Regions from separate parts of the Homo sapiens genome. Here region 1 is linked to region 2. The links are contacts of gene promoters, found by promoter capture Hi-C in blood cells and fetal thymus (Javierre and others, 2016). All regions are on one chromosome and are shown on one strand. Each heading gives the region's core, a stretch centred on a gene start or on the middle of the fragment in contact. The rest is flanking DNA. Distances are from core to core; before and after follow the strand shown.

Evidence for each region. The method cuts DNA at HindIII sites, captures the fragments that hold promoters and counts their contacts. A CHiCAGO score of 5 or more calls a contact.
Region 1: a fragment that was not itself captured here is called in contact with the fragment with the promoter of RSPH3 in region 2 in 4 of 17 cell types (non-activated CD4 T cells, fetal thymus, total B cells and 1 more); the score reaches 6.1 in non-activated CD4 T cells.

The regions. Positions count from the first base shown.
Region 1 is chr6:158,639,448-158,642,287 of GRCh38, forward strand. It overlaps DYNLT1 (dynein light chain Tctex-type 1), which reads right to left. Exons shown (of 5, transcript NM_006519.4): 2 at 1,872-1,913. Among named protein-coding and RNA genes, the nearest start is that of DYNLT1, 3.9 kb to the right of the region's middle. The HindIII fragment of the contact is 3,851 bases long and covers 1-2,840 here.
Region 2 is chr6:158,998,741-159,001,469 of GRCh38, forward strand. It overlaps RSPH3 (radial spoke head 3), which reads right to left and starts at 1,462. Exons shown (of 8, transcript NM_031924.8): 1 at 695-1,462. The coding sequence starts at 810. TAGAP-AS1 (TAGAP antisense RNA 1) reads left to right here and starts at 1,133. Exons shown (of 5, transcript NR_183546.1): 1 at 1,133-1,652. RefSeq lists enhancers at 205-1,176, 661-810, 831-880, 911-980, 1,151-1,310 and 2 more. The HindIII fragment of the contact is 7,152 bases long and covers 1-2,729 here.

The DNA of each region.
Region 1 (2,840 bases), core at 77-2,576, 360 kb before region 2:
CTCTCCCTCCGCCAGCTCTCCCTCCGCACATACTTTGAAATTCAGTTTTTCAAGGAGGAGGGAACCCTCCACCAATTTTGGACCTGCGCAAATTGACTACTACCCAATATTTAGGGTCACTTGAGTACAGAATTACCTATTGCGGCGGCAAAAAAGCTGTTGAGGCCAGTGACACAAGTTCAAGTAACACTGCAATGTCACCTCATGTTTCCATGTGGATTGGAAATGTGTTTGTTTTGTTTTGTTTTTTTAAGACAGAGTCTTGCTCTGTCGCCCAGACTGGATTGCAGTGGCGTGATCTTGGCTTACTGCACCCTCCATCTCCCGGGTTCAAGCGATTCTCCTGCCTCAGCCTCCCAAGGAGCTGGGACTACAGGCATGCGCCACCAAGCCTGGCTTATTTTTGTATTTTTAGTAGAGACGGGGTTTCACCATGTTGGACAGGATGGTCTCGATCTCTTGACCTCATGATCCGCCCACCTCGGCCTCCCAATGTGCTGGGATGACAGGTGTGAGCCATCGCGCCCAGCATGGAAATGTGTACTTTCAATTGCACTTGCTAATTGAAAGCTGGTAACCAAGTCAAAGATAAGGCAGAAAACAACTGCGGCAGAACTAGACTTCCCAACAAGCCCCCTCCACTGTTCCCAGTTCTGGTGTAATCCACCCACCTTCCTGCCCCCTGCTGTGTTCCACGTGAAACTGTGTATTTAGAAAAACCATGAAAACCAAACGTACAGATCCTGCAAAGCAACCAGAAAGTCACTCCTGATGCTGAACAATGTAAATGGTCAAACAAAATCATTTTGCCTTTGGATACTGATCACAAACATAGGTTGCGGTTTTTTATCAAACACTAGTCAATAATTTACATTAAATTCTAAATTACATCTGAAACCCCAAACAGTATCATTAAATTCAGATCATCTAATAGTTTTCTTTTAGCCAATGGCTTTAGTATCTGTGCCCCATTTTACCCAGGGAAGGCAGGGAAGCTGATGAGGAAAACTCTTTCTGGCTTCATTCCTACCCTAGGTAGGAATGAGCCCCTAGCTCTCAGCACCGCTCCAGCCACACCCACCTCCTTTCACTCCCTCACACACCATGCACTGCCCCCACTTCCCAGTCTCAGGGGGCCTTGTCCCCTCTTTTTACTGCATTACCCCTACTTCTCATTCTGCAGATTTCAGCTCGAAATGGTCCCTGAACTCCCTGGGTGGGTCACATTCCCAGTTCAGTGCTCTCACAGCACCACCACTAGTGGCACTTACCACACAGCAAATGCAGGCTGACACCTTCCAGCAGGACTGTTTGATGTGTCTGCCCTGCCTGCCCCTCAGCTGTAAACTCCAGAAGGGTCTATGCCCTGCACGCTCCCTCAGTGTGTACTTTCTGAATGAGTAACAAACATCCCTTCTGTCTCTCTTCCTCTTCATGATCAACAACACAATAAAGTGTGAAATTTAGGAATGTAAGAAAAGTAAGCAAATAGGCCCCAAACTGGATCACTAGGTCCAGAATAACTGGAAATTGATTGTTCAATTTTCTTATACTCACTCTTTCTTCATTCAACCCTGGAGACATTTATTTGTATACCAGGATTCTTTTATGCTTAAAAGATTATAGAATCAAATCTTGGTGATATGCAGTAATAATGCTATGTACATAAAACTCCTTATCTGATTTAAAATATGTAATTTACATAATATAGAAGCAACTCTTATCTAGCTATTTACTGAAGTAAAAACTGTTATTTGAAACACCAAAACACACAGACTCAGTCGAAACAATTCCAAGATAGTATTTAAAACACATTATTTTCTCTAATATAAGCCATTAAACATTTAAGAAGTGAGCATTTCTCCTCTTACCTCTTTTACAATGTTGCTCACTTCATCAACAACAAAAGCAGTCTGTAAGGAAGAACATTCAGTTAAGTTTGATTTATTTAAAAGATATTTCCACTACATTGATAAATGCAAATGTAGGTAATGAACATAATGTAGAAATGAAGACCTTAGAAATAATCTAACTAGACTGTTCAGCTTTACCAAGGATGGCATTACAGTCTTCAGAAACCAGAAGACTAGAATACATGCACATAATTTAAAGGTATTGTTTTATTTTTATTTATTTATTTTTGAGACGGAGTGTCGCTCTGTAGCCCAGGCTGGAATGCAGTGGCGCAATCTCAGCTCACTGCAATCTCTGCCTCCCAGGTTCAAGTGATTCTCCTGCCTCAGCCTCCCAAGTAGCTGGGATTACAGGTGCCCTCCACCACACCCGGCTAATTTTCGTATTTTTAGTAGAGATGGGGTTTCATCATGTTGGCCAGGCTGGTCTCGAACTCCTGACCTCAGGTGATCCTCCCGCCTCAGCCTCCCAAAATGCTGGGATTACAGGCGTAAGCCACCACACCTGGCCCTGTTTTGTTTTAATCATGCCACAATCTAAGACTTCACTTTAAACTAGAATTCATTCTCTTCTTCCATTTCAACTGGCTGCTAGAATCATTAACCAATAGAGAGGCTTAATGAGTTGGTTGATTTTTGTATAAATTAACTGAAGCTGCTGAAGTAATCCATTTAAGATGTAATTCTCTCTTCCATGATGTAAACTGATTAGGAGGATCAGTTTGACCTTGAGGAGATTTTTTTAAAGCACCATTACTTGTAAAATGTACGATGATTACATTATCTCCAGGTAATTATTTTTCTTTCCCAGTGCTGCCCTCCGACTCCAGGACTAACCACCAGCTGCCAGCATGGCTGTTCTCTGTCAGTGTCTGGATGACTCAGGAGGTGGGCTGCCTGCAGGAATCTAGTGCCAGGAGTATAGTT
Region 2 (2,729 bases), core at 212-2,711:
AGCTACTTGGGAGGCTGAGGCAGGAGAATCGTTTGATCGGGGAGGAGTGGGGGAGGGGGGCGGAGGTTGCAGTGAGCGGAGATCGCGTCATTGCAGTCCAGCCTGGGCGACAAGAGCGAAACTCCGTCTCAAAACAACAACAGCAACCACCACCACCACCACCACCACCACCACAAAAAACCAATCTGTGGTCCTGCATGGAAGAATAATCTTACTCCTGCTCAAAGCCTGCCGAAGAGATTTACTCGGCTCCCATTTTGGATATGCTACTGTTGGATATCTTTGCACCGCGGTCTCCTCATCTGCATAATGGAGTTATAAAATCAACTTCACAGCACTGTGGATTAACTAAGAAAACGTATTTGAATGCCCCCCGTAAGGTGCTCAGCACGTAGTTGGCCCTCAATACACACTGGTACAATTCAAACTTTGTGAAATGAGCCAATTCGTGTACATGTTAAGGACCACGGCAGCAACTCATATCACTAAAAGTTAACTGATGCCCAACCCATGCCCCTTCCTGCTTCACTCCTCCACACCACGGGAGATTCCTTAGGGCAGAACTTTTATTTCGGCAGAGTGCAGCCAAGGGAAGACAGCATAAGCAGCTTTTTTGCCAGGGCGAAGGGGCCAGACCCCGGCCTGGGGATGGGGTGCAAGTATGGACCACACAGGGGCTGGCTTGGTCACTCACGGCTGCGTCAGGCTGTCCCGGTAACGGCTGCGCTGGCAGGGCAGTGCTCGGGGCCGGCTGGTGTAGGTGTAGGTGCTCGGGGCCCGAGAGGTGCGATCAGTCAGCGCTGAGGCCATGTCCGGGGGCTGACTGCCTCGCTTTCGGTGGAGCTTGGCTTTGAAGCAGGTGGGCGCTAAGGTGTTGTGGGACCCGGAGAGATGTAAGTAGTGCCAAGGGCAAGGATTCCGCGACGCGAGGAGAGGCGACAACAAGGGAGGCGGGCGGGACGGGAGGTTACCAGCGCAGGAGGTGGGAGCTATACTGGGCTCGCTCCCAGCACCACAGAGACCAGCTGCGGGGGCCGCATCGGTTGCCCAGCAACCCAGGGTTCTGTCTGGGGGCGGGAACTCCGGGCAGTTCCGGTCCCCAGGTTTCCCGGGAAGGACTGCGGCACAAGGGACTTCCGGCTCTTGACTCCGCCCAGCCGCGCCACCCAGGTAGGTGCGCCTGCGCTTTGCGAGGTTCCTGGCTAGGGAGGCGGCCTTGGCTGGCTTGACCGTCATCCTTGAGGCCTGCGGGGCAACGGTGGCTGTCCTTGGCCCGGCTTTGGAATGTGGCTTTGCAGGGCTGGTGTTGGCGCCATTCTCGCAGGCCCACGTGCTCCTGCTCTTCCAGGGTGTCCTCGGCTGTTTCTCCTGCCGCGGCGCAGCAGCGCTCCCAGGCTGCCCCCGCGATAACACGCCCCTGGCAGCCAGGCTCCCAGCTCTGTTACGTGCCCGGGCGGGGAAGAGCTTCCTGGTGTCTCCCGGCTCCTGCCCTTCTCCCGCCCCAGGGGCGGGCTGCCGCCGCCCTCTGCAGCTGAGTCAGTGCAGTTCCTCACCTACCTTCTCTGCTCACCGCTGTGTGCTAGCAATCGGAGGACCCTTGGCACACGGAGCGACAGGGGCCTCCCCCACAGACACCTCATTTTGGGAAAGAAGTGAGCAATTTATTGAGTCTTAAAAAATACAAAGGCATAGTTCCCCTTAATCTATCAGGCTTCCAGCTCTAAAGAATGTCTCTAGTATTGCGGGGTGGGGCTGCGCTTAAAAACGCAGACGCTTTGGTTTTAGTACCAGCAACGTTAAAAATCTTCTATCTTGTATGAGTGAATGTGTATCCCTTGTGATCAGTTATTTGCATTTGCAGTTACACCTTCATTCAGCTAATTGCTGTCTTGATTTGAATCCAGGTTCTAGAATGTACTAGCTCCGAAACCTCAGGCAAGTTAAATGTTTTTGTGCTTCATTTTCCTAATCCACAAAGTGGCAATAGAAGAATTTATCTCTTTAGGTTTTGTCTTGAGGATTAAAACCGTTAATACTTAGAGCTGTGCCTGGTAAATGGCAAGCCTTTATATTAAGATCTGGACCGTTCTGTGCTTTGAAGTGTATGACCTAAAGCAGATGTAGGCATTCTATAAGTAACACTAGCATAAAGGTGTATGGTAAATTCTAGAGGTGAAAACACTCCCAACATATTTTAGGTCTGATCATTTAATTTTGAGGTAATTTCTGAAAGGGCTAGAGGAGAAAGTGACATTTAAGTTGTGTTTGATAAATGATAGTATTTTAACTGGCCAGCCTCTTGGGGGAAGTGCATTCGGAATGGCTTGATCAAAGGCTCAAGAAGCCCAAGGTGCATTTGGAAAACTGTAAGCAAGGTTTGTGTAGATGAGTTGTAGAAATATATATAGACAGGCTGACACCACATCGTGGAAACAGTAAACACTAGCATATTAATTAGAATATTTTTTCCCTCAAGTAACAAAAAACCAATTCCAAGTGGCTGAAATAATAAGGAATTCATTATTTTACACTCCCCAGGTTGGTTAACCTGGAGGGTAACTTGGGGGCTCAGCACATTATCAACAACACGTTTTTTCCCCTACCTTTCCACTCTGTCACCTGGGTTGTTGGCTTCAACAAAGTAGTAATAGAAGTATCTGCTCTTTTGTCTTTATTGGAAGAGCAAAACCCCCTCGTAAACTCCCAACTGACCAGAATTACATCATATT